Linked DNA regions of Homo sapiens: regions 2, 3, 4 and 5 are each linked to region 1. Evidence: promoter capture Hi-C in 16 types of primary human blood cells and fetal thymus (Javierre and others, 2016). All regions are on one chromosome and are shown on one strand. Each heading gives the region's core, a stretch centred on a gene start or on the middle of the fragment in contact. The rest is flanking DNA. Distances are from core to core; before and after follow the strand shown.

Region 1 (2,776 bases), core at 193-2,692:
CTCATTAATACTGTATACATATGGAGTTTAAAGGATTTCAGATTCATCTCTGAAATAAAACAAAATTTCATTTCTGCCAAAGTGGAGATTTGTGTGTGCGACCATACAGAATCTGAAAGGCATTTTCCTCTTCTAAAACCTTGAATAACAATACCCATTTCCTTACACAATTTCATCTTAAGTTCAAGACAGTATCAACAGAGTCTTCATAATCTACCCTGCTCTTTTTCATTTTCAAACGTTGACAACAGCACAATTCAGAATGGGAGCTGAACATCTGAAATGCCATTTCTCCCATACAGAAAAAAACCAAAGTACCAAATACACATAAAGCATAATACCTCTTTTCCTCAAAAACCACTGACCAAAAGATTTCTCCAGGTCACTCTCATTTTACCAAATTTTAATTACAAACTCATAGACACTGAGGTTCCAGGGGAAAAAAAGGTCACTGCACTGTTCAAGGAAATGGCATGAGTAGTAGACGAATAGAACGCCAATTGGGATTGCAGGCTCTGAAACCTGACTGCCTGAGTTCAAGCCACTTCCTGGAGCCACAAATCCGCCTATGCAATCTTATTCTACTGACTCAACCTCCACGAGGCTGTTATCTCACCTGTAAGATGGGCGAGTAACAACTGAAGACCCCTCTGGTCTGTGGCCTGCAAAATGTTAATAGCAACTACTCCAAAGGGTGGTTGTGAGGATTAAATGAGACAAACCTAAGTAAAGGGTTTACTGGCACACGGTAAGTGCCTAATAAGGGGTTGCTACTGTTGTTGTTACTCACAACTACAGGATAATAAGGAATAAAGGGATGAAAAAAGGAAGAAAAGCCACAGAAGTTAAGAAAGGCAAGCAATGAGGGGGATGAAATGAAAGGGCAAACGTGGGGAGCCCAAAGAGCCGCGGAGGGCGTGGAGAAGGCTTAGCCAGAAGTGGCGAGGGGTACAGGGAAAGTAACTGCGGAGTGCAGAGACGTCGATGAGGAAAATCAGGCCCGCAGCGGAGCGCGGCCTGGGGACAGACTCAGGTCGGCCGAGACGGAGGCGACACGCGGCTGAGGCGGGGCCCAAAGGCGGGAGCACCGCGCCCGGCCAGAGGGCTGCAGGCCGCGAGAGGCGGCGAGGCCCCAAGAAAGCACTAGGAAGCAGCCAGGGAACGCGCAGGAGGCCCTGGCCCAGCCCGGGCCCGGCTCTCATTCAAGCCACCTTCCCCTTCCCCCTTCTTAAACCCCATGCGGTCCCGGCCCGGGCCGCCCGGCTCCGCTACCCACCGTCCGCCCCGGATCTCCACATGGCAGGTCTAGCGTCTAGCCTCTGGGGCTCTCGTGAGCAGAGATGTGAAGGAGGGCAGCGTTCCTTACCTGAGCTCCCCCGGGTTGAATCGTTCACTCTCGCCCCCGTCCCCGCCACGCTCCGCCATTACAGAGGGCCGCGTTCATCCACCCGCCGACCCGACGTCTCCTATTGGCTAGAAAAATCGTCAATCCCCAACGAGAGAGGCGGAGACAGCAGAAGTCTGAGATGCGGTTGGTCAAACTTTCCATCAATCTTCGAAATGGGGGCGATATGTTCTTTGCTATTGGGCAAGGCGCCCGCCGACTTTGAAAGCGGTATGAAGACAGCCAGTTGATTGGTGACTCGGGGGCTTTATGGGAAATGAGATTTTAGCAGTGAGGAACCGCCGGCGCCCTCTCGCGGTAAGCAGAACTAAGTCCTCCCAAGTTCGGCTCAGCCTGCGGTAGCCACGTGTCTGTCGGCTTCCAGGAGAGCCAATTGTGGAGCCATATTGGCCAGTAGTAGCTCAGGCGGAGAGCATTTCCACTGGGCAAGCCAATCAAAATCGACCTGGGCCGCGCCTAAACCGATTGCACAGTTGCTGTGGAAAGCCGCTATTTCCTAGCTTTACAGTAGCAGGAGTCTTAAGTCACCACTCAGCTCTATATCCATGTTATTAAATAATATATTATTAATTACAAGAATACCTCCCAAATTATACTAAACCGTTGCAAGCCAATAGGTGTTATAAGTTGCTGCATTAAGAAAGGTAAATTGGCGAAGGCAAGCCTCTTTGCAATTTACAGCTTAACCACGTCTCCCTCGATCTCAAAATGTGCTTGTCTGAAATTAGCACACCCAGAATACCAGACAATTCTGAATATTTATTTAGTTTTTCTAATTAACAAAAAAAAAAGTTTTGGATTTGGGGTTTCAAAGGCACAATGAAGATGAGCCCTTTTATTAAAGTCGTAAAAATATTAAAATAATACTAATAGATAAATTTTACTTGGACCTAACCATGTAGCAAACCCGGATCTAAGTATGTCAGGTACGTTAACTCTTTTAAGATTCAAAAATTGCTAGGAGGTGGGTAACATAGTCACTGTTTGTAGATGAGCTTGAGGCACAGAGAAGTTAAGTAACTTGCCCAAGGTCACACATCTACTAAATAGCAGAGCCTGGTCTTAACCCCAGTCAGCGTAGTAGCAAAGCAGCACTCTTAAATACTGTAAGCCTAAATAATTGGATCCACATAAAAACATGTGCACAAATGTTCACAGCAGCAATATTCATAATAGCCAAAAAGTATTGTAACAACCCAATGACCATCAGCTGATGCATGGTTAAGAAGCATGGTATAGGCCGGGCGCGGTGGCCCAAACCTGTAATCCCAGCACTTTGGGAGGCCTAGACGGGCGGATCACGAGGTCAGGAGATCAAGACCATCCTGGCTCACACGGTGAAACCCTGTCTCTACTAAAAACAAATAGCCC
Region 2 (2,776 bases), core at 1-2,500, 8.3 Mb after region 1:
ACTTTCCGCCCCAGCCACTCCCCAGTTCCTTTACCTGCTGCTTGTCCTCTAGGGAGGTAGAGACGACAGAGCAGTCTGATAGCAGGTTCTTGCGTACCACAGACCCCAAATCTGCAGCTGTGGACTCAAACATGGGAGAAACTACGACATCGTCATCGGACAGCAAGCCCGCTGGCGGAGAAAGGATCCCTTGCGACATGACGGCAGGGGCAGCCTAGGTCTAAAAAGAGACCAAAAAGTGGGCAGGGAGAAGAACCTTTAGGGACAGAAGGGGCCGCGAATTTTAGGTAATAAGTCCCTTGCCCCAGGACACCGTGTCCCGCTTCCTACTTCTTTTCCCCTCCAATTATCGGCAAAGGGGAAGGGAATGAGAGAAGTTCACTTAATGAACAATTGAGAGAAGTTTGAGGCGGCATTTCTGAACGCGAACAGAAGTCCACAGACATCTGGCTCCAAAAGCAGAAGGCTACGCCTAAAGTAGGGCACCTCGCCCGCCGGTGCTGTGGAGGTGGTGTCAGGATCCCTCGGCTCCTTCTCTAACCTCACCCCAAGGACCACCGTGAGAACAGAGATGCAGCATTAAGAGAAAAACAGATGGCTGCAGCTCCGATTTCTTAAAGCCTATTCCGCGCGGGCAAGAGCTGGTAACCCGGGCTCCAGCACAGCCGCACACTCACCCGAAGACGTGCCACTTGCTCCTCCTGGGATACTGGCTTACTCACACCTAGTCGCCGAAGCTGGACTTTCGCAGCCGCAGAGCACAACTCCGCCCACGAGGTGCAGCTTTGTTACAGATACAATATTTTAAATTACGCGCTGCGTTCGTTCGGCCAATCAGATAGGGAAGCCTGCAGCTACCAATCCGCGTAAGGAAAGGGGGCGGGCCTGACTGGAATTCCAGTCGTTCGCTTCTGCTTGACCTCTGAGTTCTAATGTGGGTCCGGGTTACCAACTGTCGTGGATTCGCACTTATTTTGCCTGGGATTCTTCCAACTTAACCTTTTTCCTTGAACCTTAGACATTTCTTACCTAAGAGCCTAAAGGAAATCTTGAGGCTTCAGCAGCCAACTCCTGTCCTTCCTTAGCAACAATCTTAACAGGAGTGCACAGGGTAACTGGTTTAGGGTGCTTGCTTTGTCTTAAGGGGAAAAACGACATTTCCCAGGAGGCACCGCGAACCAACGCCGGTACACTATTTCCCAGAATTCCAGGGTTTCGGCCCTTCCAGACCGTCTCTCCTCAGGGTTGGAGACTTCGGGGCCAAGATGGCGACGGGAACGGGCAGTGAGTATCTGAGCAGGTTTTGCGTGAAAGGCCTTTGTAGATCCGAGGCTAGGCACCATATTTTTGTTACACGCTTAGGGAGTGGGAGAAGTGGGTTGCTTGAGAGCCCAGGGTTTTCAGAGACCTGCGCTCTACAGCATCGTGAAGACCAACGTTTGGGGGCCCAGAAATCTGGGGTCTTGTTTCTCAGGGAGAGAGCGGAGGTGTGAGAGAAGCAGCTTAGTGAATCCTAGTGTGTTAGGAACTCTGCGGGTTAACCGTAAAAGCACTCTAGAAACTTGGGCGTGCAGACGAAAAGATGTTATGAGCCAGACGGAGTAACCGGCACCTCAAAGAGCCATTCATTTTTTTGTCTGACGTTTGTGAGGCAGTGGAAGTGGGGTCTTTTAACCATGAGCTTTTCTTGCCACTCAGGAAATTGCATCTCGGGGATTTCAGCCATTTTTCTTTTTTTGGACTGAAAAGCTCTTTTACCCCCGACATTTGGAGTAGAGGATCTGAGAGAAGTAAACAAGTTTATGCTAAGAGGGAGGCGGGGTAGTAGGAGGGGCTGGCCGCTCGGGTTCCTGGGAAATAAGCCCTGAATAAGTTCAAACTGGAATAAAGTCCAGTATTCTTAAAACTGGGCTTTTAGGGAGAACTGCCTAATCTGACATTCCCTGTTTCTTAATAAAGCGGAGCTTCAAGCCATGGCGTTTTAAGAAATAAAATGTTAATAATTCACATGCAACGAATAGGTACCCCGGTCACTGGTGATATTTCACTTGGAGAGGTGAAAATCAAGATTTGGTTATAGTAGCTCACTTTGTCCTAACAAGTTGGGATGTTTTGTATTAGGCTTTTAGTCCTCTTTTTGGGGATTTTGGAGCTTAGCACTACAGTCTCAGTGGTTGTTTCCAAGGCTTTTTTTTTTTTCTCCCTTTCCCAGAACACAAGCTGCTAAGCACTGGCCCCACAGAGCCATGGTCCATCCGAGAGAAGCTATGTTTAGCATCTTCTGTCATGAGAAGTGGCGATCAAAATTGGTAAGGTATCTAGGATGTCAGCTTTTCTGGGTCTTAGAAATTGTTAGATACTCTTTCACATCGGTAGATTTCTATAGTTAATCATATTAAGCTGTAAGTAGACTTTCTTTTCTTTTTCTTCTTTTTTTGAGACTGAGTCTCCTTCTGTTGCCCAGGCTGGAGTGCAGTGGTGCGGACACGCCCAGCTAATTTTTGTATTTTTTAGTAGAGACAGAGTTTCGCCATGTTGGCCAGGCTGGTCTCGAACTCCTGACCTCAGGTGATCCCCCCACCTCGGCCTGCCAGAGTGCTGGGATTACAGGTGTGAGCCACTGCGCCTGGCCATGCCTGGCTAATTTTGTATTTTTAGTAGAGACGGGGTTTCACCATGTTGGCCACGATGGTCTCAATCTCCTGACCTCATGATCTGTCCGCCTCGGCCTCCCAAAGTGCTGGGATTACAGGCGTGAGCCACTGCCAGGCCTATT
Region 3 (2,776 bases), core at 84-2,583, 5.7 Mb after region 1:
TTTTCAACCAAGAAACTCAAATTTTTAGGTAAACTTCTTTTTAGAAGTGTTAAGCCTTCATTTCTATAAAGCCTTAGCTTTCGAGAGAGTATAGCAGTCATCTTCCAAGACAGCCCCAGGATGAGCCCCACCCTCTTGGTATTCCTACTCTGTGTAGTCTCTTCCCAATTTGTACCAGAGTTGGTCTGTTTGGCCAATAGAATATGTCAAAAGTAGTATCTTCCAAAATTAGGTTATTTTAAAAACCATGCCTTCTGTCTTTGTTTGGGTTACTTGCTCTGGGGAAGCCAGTTGCTTTATTGTGAGCAGTCTTATAGAAAGGTCTATGGGGTGGCCGGGCATGGTGGCTCACGCCTGTAATCCCAGCACTTTGGGAGGCCGAGGCGGGCGGATCACCTGAGGTCGGGAGTTCGAGACTAGCCTGACCAACACGGAGAAACCCCGTCTCTACTAAAAATACAAAAAAATCAGGTGGTGCATGCCTGTAATCCCAGCTACTTGGGAGGCTGAGGCAGGAGAATCGCTTGAACCCAGGAGGCGAGGCTGTGGTGAGCCGAGATCATACCATTGCATTTCATCCTGGGCAAGAAGAGTGAAACTCTGTCTCAGAAAAAAAAAAAAAAAGAAAAGAAAAAAGAAAAAGAAAAAAGAAAGGTCTATGGGGCAAAGAACTTAGGCTTCCAAACCACAGGCATGTGAGAGAGCTTGGAAGCAGATCTTCCAGCCCCACTTAAGATTCATATGAATGCAGACCTACCTTGCCAACTCCTTGATTGCAGCTTCATGAAGACCCTGAGCCAGAACCACCTAGGTAAGCCACTCCCAGATTCCTTACCCAAAGAAACTGTGAGTGGTGTAGTTTATGCTGCTAAGCTTTAGGTTAATTTGTTAATTTACATAACAATAGATAACTAATACAGACAGGAATGGACAACAGTGGGTTTACTAAGCAGCTCAGAGAAGTGTCACTCATTGCTATCTGTGTTGCTCTCCTGCCAGAAAACCTAACTGGACAGAGAAGCAGTGGGGGGCAAAAGGGTGACAAGCTCTTGTAGGACCCTTCTTCCTATAGGTTATAGTCTTGGAAGAAGGTGTACAATCAGGCATCCATAACAACTACAGCCTTTGCAGCTAGTCTGGAACCTCAAACCCCTCTTCTTCACCATTAACAACTCCTAGGCTCTATTCTAGCTCCACCTAATTTCTCTCCTAGAAATCTCCTCAGTAGTCCTTTCCTTCATTTCTTCTTCTGACAGATCAAATAATCCCTTTTAAAATATTAATAGTAAATCAGAATTGATAACAAGTACAATGGCAATAAAAAATTTAAAAACTATATTGAGTAGTAGCTGTAGTGCTCATAGTATGATTTTTGTTTGTTTTGGTTTTTTTAATTGAGACAGGGTCTCACTGTGTTACCCAGGCTGGTCTTGAATTCCTGGGCTCAAGCAATCCTCCTGCCTTGGCCTCCCAAAGTGCTGGGAATACAGGCGTGAGCCACTGTGCCCAGCCAATGCTAATAACATGAAGAAACCCACTGAGTGACCACTCCTAGAGACACTATCATGTCAACTTGAGACCTTGGGAGACACAGAAAAACAAATATAAAGATAGAATTACAGGCAAGAAGGACGTAATCCTGGGGCCAAGGACCTTCCTTAACACTTCCTAAAACCAAAATAGGTGGCTTATTAGATGCATTCTTGGCTGCAGAGGAAAAATGATAAGCAACTCACCCTCCCATCTCAGATTGAGGGGTTGTCTTGGTAATGACAATTGTCTTCCCAAGCTTGGATTCCAAGTCCACCTTGTAGTCCCTATGCCGTAAAAGCTCTCGCTTGACAGGCTGCACTGGTTTTCCTGAAACATAATGGGGAAGGAAGTCCCTTCAATATTATAGTTCCTCAACCAGAAAGGAAAAAAAATGCATGAAATCCAAAATTCAGGTCTTACTCATTTCAAAATCATTCCTGAAAGGACACAACAGACACTTAAAGTAGCAGCTGGGGAGAATCTCAACACAGGAAGAAATCATAAGCAATCCTCAACTCTACAGCTTTTCTCCACTTTAAAGCCAGCAAATCTAAAAACAGTATGTTTTATATTCATTGATTAACTGAATTGTGGGGGAGAATTTCTGAAGAATTACTAGAAGCAACTTTTTCAAAACGGGAGCAAGGACATTCAAGAATGCTTTCAGGCAGATACCCTAGGCATAACGGAAAGGAACCTTCTGAGAGCTGGGCAAATTTATAAAAGGGGACCAACATCTAGGAAATGCCTGTTACATGTCAAGCACTATTTATTTTACATGTTACATAAAAAATGAAAGAGTTAGTGAGTGCAAGGTGGCCTGGAGGTAAAGGGAAAGAAGAATGTACACGTTTGAAACAGATGACAAAATAAAACATTTCTTTATGCAATCTCTTAAACAGGAGAGAAGCACCAACTCCCTGATGTACAAGGCACAGAGAAACAGCACTACTAAGCTCTAGCTGAAACAATCACAGATCCTGCAAAGTTCCCCGGCTTTTCTCAGACTATATGGGAGGGTCTTGATTGGGCCAGGAATGTTCTCTCCCTTAAGAAATTTCAAGGGAAAGAGGGGGGTCACTGATAGCGGTAATGCACAGCAGCAAAATACTCTACTTAACTTCTCTGTCACTACTAAGGATGCCGTTATCTTCTCTGTACTTCAGGAAAGCATTAAACGAGCCAAGCAAAGGGTGGGCAAGGAAGCAGAGTGAAATAGAGCTGAAGAGCATCTCAAAACTAC
Region 4 (2,776 bases), core at 183-2,682, 5.3 Mb before region 1:
TCACAATTTAAAAAAATCTTTGTTCTTTCTCATCACGTGAAAAGATATGTTACAGTTAATACTAATGCTCATCCGCAAAATTCTTAAACAGATCAAGACAGGTGGATACACTCCAGGGAAATCTAGGCAACCTCAGTGCAGAAACAAGGGTGTACTTAAGGCACAGCCTATGGCTTTGCATAAACAGCATATGGGAGAAGCCTGCAAGGGCAGGCAGGTGTCACATTCATACATTCCAGATTCAAAATCCCTCTAAGATTTTTCAATTAAGGAAATAAGCTGGCTATAGTACCCTATTAGGTACCACATGCTTTTCAAAATAGTTTTGACAATTCGGTTTCAGAGCTCCAATTCACTTTTTAGTAAAAGTATGGTAATACCAAAGATGTGTGAAAGCACTCTCTAAATATGCAAAAGGTTACACAAATACATAATGATGCTTTATATAGCCAGTGAAGTTAATAGCCACCAAAGATTACATCCCTACTAAGTAGATGTGTATACCATCCAGGAAGCCAAATTTCTGTCAATCATCTTTAATCTTTACTTTTGATTAAGTACCTAAGATACAACACACATACCAAGAACTTATTACATGACAGACTGGCCACCTGACAGAAGAGGGACTCTATCACAAAGTCGCCTAAAGACCTTATTTACTAAGCTACAGGCTGTGAGGGCAATTTTTTTGAAATTGCTTTCCACCTTGTAAGACAGAATATTAAGACACTATTCGTGTGTGTGAATTATTCCTACTCTTAACCCTATCACCTGGCTTGCAACTTGACCTTCCCAACTAAAGACAGACAGGATGTCCAAGAATACTTTTTTAAAAAAAGTAAATAGCTGATTTCTGAGATATAAAATTATAAACCTAGTGTGCCACCACATTGTGATCACCAACTACATGTAAGATAATAGTTGCTGAATCTAAATTCAACTCCAGGGCTTGTACTGGAGTACTGGAAGGGCAGTACTGCACTACCAGAGATTTTTCCCACTTGCTTTTGACAAATTACTGGGGGGCGGGCGAGGCTTTCCTTTTTTTTTTTGACCTACCTACTTCCACAATTATCCATTCTTCTTTGTAAAGTCAGTAATAGTTTCGTCCAAGGAAGCCAAAGCACAATATAATTAAACAAACATACAATGCCTATTTAAATTCTGAAAGTTAAAAAAAAAATCAATTTGCAAAATGTTAAAAGACCAAGTGGGCAGTTTTATCAGACTGACAAAAATAAAGAAAAAAAATATAAAATTGGCTTTAGTCACAAATGTAAGCTTTATGTTAAATTTTATCTTTTAACACTAGCCCCATCAGTCCTAAGGACGATATAAAATTCACAAACTTTTACAAAAACTTAAAACTGCCTTCTGCCGTTCACTTTCTATGCAAAATACTAGAACGAGTGGGAAAAAAAAAAACCATAAGTTACAAAAGAAAAACTGCTCTAAGTAGGTCACAAACAAACATTACCAAAATCTCCTAATGTTCCCCTGGTGCAGTGTCAGCTCAGGAACAGCAAACTGAGTTAAACAAAGAACTGTCTACTTTTCTACCTGTAAGAGGTACAAAAGCTTAGACTTTTGTACCGGTAAGCAGCTCCAACAAAACTGACGTATGACTTGGTAGGGATGTAGGGCAGCCTTGCCAAGCCTTACATTACCACAATTTGCTTCAATTCACTTGTTCCTGATAAATGCACAAGTAATCAGTTAGAGCACCAGTTTGTGAAATAATCACGTAATTTTCATGTTCCTGCCCAAGTGATAACCATTTGCCTGAGGCCAAGAACTGTATTTTTTTAATATTTTAAGTAGAAACTAACGAAATTTTCCCTCAATAATGTGTAAGGTAATTTCATTCTATTTTGCCTCAAGCAGTAATAAAATTAGCTGGACTCAAGCTTAAACAGTTTAAATGTAGGTCATTCTAGTGTTTTTCCATTTGACAACTTAAATTGCTCAACTTTAAGTCTAAGTTAAAATGCTAATTCCATAGTTAACCAGTCTGTAAGGGCAAGTAACCGGAATCGCCACACCAGCAAAGTTCCAAGTAAATGTTACTTGGAACATTATTATAATACTGTTATAGAAACATGTTTATAGAAAGGGTTTCCAGAACACGATTATAGAAATCTTTATGTTTATAGAAGTGTTTCTATAACATAGAAGATTTATTTCACTAAGCCAAGGAGTATGTTGGCTTTTAAATAATCTAAAAGATGGTAACTACTAGAAAAATATAAGCTCCAGTCCCTGAAGAAAAGCATCTTGTTTCTGCATATACACAAGAACCCAGCAGAGTAAATGCTAAATAAACGGAGTGTACACAAACTTTCATCCACAGATCTCGACTGTCACAGTTGTTTTTTCCAACACATCTCCAACACCAGTAATTCATCCAGCATGACACGCTCCACAGAGGTCCAAATAGTATACTGTAACTGGGCGCCAACCTTTCTATTCCAATTCCGTATTTTAACCCACAGATGCTAGTGAGATCTTAAATTCGTCGCTTTGCACCTCATTCCCTTCAACTATAAAGTGAATCTTCTCAAGGTCTTTCTGCAAAAGTCTCCTCCAATTAAAAAAAAAGTAGAGAAAAAAAAATTCAACGTCTAAAACCGGAGCCTAACTTCCCGCTGGCGGGAATTTCCCATCAGCAATCTGAGATTCAAACCCGATGAGGAACACAGTCCATGTTCATTTGCACTTACTCATCGTTTTCCCTACTTTTTTCCAGAAGCTACGGTGGCGGCACATCTACCCAGGG
Region 5 (2,776 bases), core at 170-2,669, 5.1 Mb after region 1:
ATTCAATTAGCAAATATTTTTTGTGTATCTCCCACATTCTGGTACTAGGCACTGGGACACAATGACCAGGATAGAAGAAGATCACTATCATGGAGCTTTCAATCATACAAGAATAAAGTGAATTTTGGAAATGTTAATTACATCTTAAGAGAATTCTCTTAAATTTAGGGGCAATTGTTAATATTTTAGAGGATAGAAATGAAATATTAATGGCCTTGATGCTCTCCCAGATATTTTAAAAATAAATGGAAATAAATAGAAATAAGTACCAACTGTTACCCAGTTATGTTAAAATACTAAAAATATGTGTTGATGAATACCTGACTATTGATAGAAAAGACAAGCAGAAAACAGCAAAATAGTAGAGGTGGAGTTAAAAAAAATGTCAAAGTAATTTAAAATTACTTGTACATGAGAGACAGGAAACAATACTTCAATTATATCTACTTTAACCAGATGCTCAGTCTATCAGACAATTCTGTCCAAAAGAACACTTCCTTCTCTGTTTACATTTACATCTAAATCAAGCACATAAAAAGGAATCACCCTTGTTTCCCCAGAAGTATTATAGAACACAAGTAAAACCAGAGGCACAATTCCCCTACAGGGAATTATATTTAAAAATACAGACTTTGGGCCATGCGCGCTGGCTCACACCTATAATCCTAGTACTTTGGGAGGCCAAGACAGGCAGATCACCTCAGGTCAGGAGTTCGAGACCAGCCTGGCCAACATGGTGAAACCCCTTCTCTACTAAAAATACAAAACTTAGGTGGGGTAGTGGAACGTGCCTGTAATCCCAACTACTTAAGAGGCTGAAGCAGGAGAATCGCTTGAACCCCAGAGGTGGAGGTTGCAGTCAGCCAATATTGTGCCACTGCACTCTAGCCTGGGTGACAGCCTGAGACTCCATCTCCAAAACAAACAAACAAACATATATATAGAGAGAGACTTATATAGTAAGCTGCATGTCCTCCTCACTCCATTGATTTGGGTACTTTGAAATCCATTGTATAGTAGCTACACATTCTTGTATTGGCACCAGATAGGCTAGACTCTAGGGAACATCCGAGATGTTTCCAGAAGCAAAGACGCTTACTGCAAGGCGTCCCCCATCTCCCGGAATCACCCGGAAGTCTAGAAGCCATCCGGCCCCACAGCGATCCCGTAAAAGTGCTGGCTTAGCGGGGGACGAATCTGTGTCTTTCTTGGAACTTCCAAGCTCTAAATAGTTTGAAACCAACAGCTCTTCCGAAACACTGTCATTTCCATCCCGGAAAAACAAGTTCTCGCGAAAAGATGAGTTTCACGCTGGGCAGCGTAATTGCGCTATTGCGCCTGCGCTAGCTGGGGCTCCGCCCTTCCGCCCGGAGGGGCTGTCACTCACAGCCGCCTCCCGCCCCGCGTCGCGACGTAGCACTTCCGTTTTTGCTGGGTAGGCGACCCGGACGGAGGGCCGGCGAGGTGCGGGGTCTGGTGATGCGAGCTGCGCCTCTCGGCAAGATTTCGCGCTGCCCATCCCGGGCCCTTTCATCAGTAATCGGTAGTGGATCACTCTGCCAAGCGGCAGGAAGAATTAAGGAAACGACAAGGAGACGCTCGGCTCTCTCCCGCTTGGCTCCTTGCGGCCTCCTCTTCCCTTCGCTCCGGCCCGGTGAAACTGAACTTATAATCGTCACTGGATTGTAAGTACCCGAGGCGAAGAGAGCTCGCTGAGCCCTGATTTTTTGAGTGTCTTTGTTCCGGGAGAGTTTGTGAGTTGAAAGTATCTCTGCTGGGCTTTCTGGGCCGAAAACCGTTCCGGGGGAGCCGCCATTTGCTTTCCTGTTCCCTAGCTAGCTAGCTAGCTCTCTCCGCGTTGTCCGGCAGCGGCACCTAGAGGTTGGGACTTGGCATTGCATCTGATTTAATGAACTTAAGTCTGTGAATAAGCCTTTGTGTTAACGACTGGTATTCGGTCACAGCATATTTAGAGAAAAGACTTGGAGCTTAAATAAAAACTAAGGCAAAATAGACGCTTAGCTGCTGATCTACAGAGAACTTCTTGTAATTAAAAGATTTCAATTCATAGCAAACTGGTGTTTTAAACTATTGCAGTAGCTGGAACTTTTTAGTGTAACCAGCATTTATTGGAGAAGTGAATCACAAGGAAATAAAGATGAGTAAAAGCAAAGATGATGCTCCTCACGAACTGGAGAGCCAGTTTATCTTACGTCTGCCTCCAGAATATGCCTCTACTGTGAGAAGGGCAGTACAGTCTGGTCATGTCAACCTCAAGGACAGACTGACAATTGAGTTACATCCTGATGGGCGTCATGGAATCGTCAGAGTGGACCGTGTTCCATTGGCCTCAAAATTAGTAGACCTGCCCTGTGTTATGGAAAGCTTGAAAACCATTGATAAAAAAACTTTTTACAAGACAGCTGATATCTGTCAGATGCTTGTATCCACAGTTGATGGTGATCTCTATCCTCCTGTGGAGGAGCCAGTTGCTAGCACTGATCCTAAAGCAAGCAAGAAAAAGGATAAGGACAAAGAGAAAAAGTTTATCTGGAACCACGGAATTACTCTGCCTCTAAAGAATGTCAGGAAGAGAAGGTTCCGGAAGACAGCAAAGAAGAAATATATTGAATCTCCAGATGTTGAAAAAGAAGTGAAACGATTGCTGAGTACAGATGCTGAAGCTGTTAGTACTCGGTGGGAAATAATTGCCGAAGATGAAACAAAGGAGGCAGAAAATCAAGGCCTGGATATCTCTTCTCCAGGAATGTCTGGT

The links. The method cuts DNA at HindIII sites, captures the fragments that hold promoters and counts their contacts. A CHiCAGO score of 5 or more calls a contact.
Region 2: a contact is called between the fragment with the promoter of BRD8 here and the fragment with the promoter of TCERG1 in region 1, in 1 of 17 cell types (neutrophils). The highest score is 6.7, in neutrophils.
Region 3: a contact is called between a fragment that was not itself captured here and the fragment with the promoter of TCERG1 in region 1, in 1 of 17 cell types (fetal thymus). The highest score is 6.3, in fetal thymus.
Region 4: a fragment that was not itself captured here is called in contact with the fragment with the promoter of TCERG1 in region 1 in 1 of 17 cell types (fetal thymus); the score reaches 5.7 in fetal thymus.
Region 5: a contact is called between the fragment with the promoter of TAF7 here and the fragment with the promoter of TCERG1 in region 1, in 6 of 17 cell types (total B cells, total CD4 T cells, fetal thymus and 3 more). The highest score is 10.6, in total B cells.

Annotation. Positions count from the first base shown.
Region 1 is chr5:146,445,999-146,448,774 of GRCh38, reverse strand. It overlaps TCERG1 (transcription elongation regulator 1), which reads right to left and starts at 1,442. Exons shown (of 23, transcript NM_001382548.1): 1 at 1,367-1,442. The coding sequence starts at 1,425. RefSeq lists a silencer at 1,074-1,153 and an enhancer at 1,072-1,779. The HindIII fragment of the contact is 4,342 bases long and covers 1-2,776 here.
Region 2 is chr5:138,177,104-138,179,879 of GRCh38, reverse strand. BRD8 (bromodomain containing 8) reads left to right here and starts at 1,250. Exons shown (of 27, transcript NM_139199.2): 1 at 1,250-1,284; 2 at 2,213-2,309. The coding sequence starts at 1,266. It overlaps KIF20A (kinesin family member 20A), which reads right to left and starts at 768. Exons shown (of 19, transcript NM_005733.3): 1 at 678-768; 2 at 35-220. The coding sequence starts at 199. RefSeq lists enhancers at 939-1,108, 1,249-1,298, 1,006-1,300. The HindIII fragment of the contact is 9,650 bases long and covers 1-2,776 here.
Region 3 is chr5:140,701,090-140,703,865 of GRCh38, reverse strand. ZMAT2 (zinc finger matrin-type 2) reads right to left here. Exons shown (of 6, transcript NM_144723.3): 3 at 1,737-1,860. Among named protein-coding and RNA genes, the nearest start is that of ZMAT2, 2.0 kb to the right of the region's middle. RefSeq lists an enhancer at 587-1,129. The HindIII fragment of the contact is 916 bases long and covers 876-1,791 here.
Region 4 is chr5:151,772,993-151,775,768 of GRCh38, reverse strand. The region is part of intron 1 of G3BP1 (G3BP stress granule assembly factor 1); the gene reads right to left. Among named protein-coding and RNA genes, the nearest start is that of G3BP1, 2.4 kb to the right of the region's middle. The HindIII fragment of the contact is 297 bases long and covers 1,284-1,580 here.
Region 5 is chr5:141,319,427-141,322,202 of GRCh38, reverse strand. TAF7 (TATA-box binding protein associated factor 7) reads left to right here and starts at 1,419. Exons shown (of 1, transcript NM_005642.3): 1 at 1,419-2,776. The coding sequence starts at 2,159. RefSeq lists enhancers at 891-1,040, 1,051-1,110, 1,691-1,890. The HindIII fragment of the contact is 5,333 bases long and covers 1-2,387 here.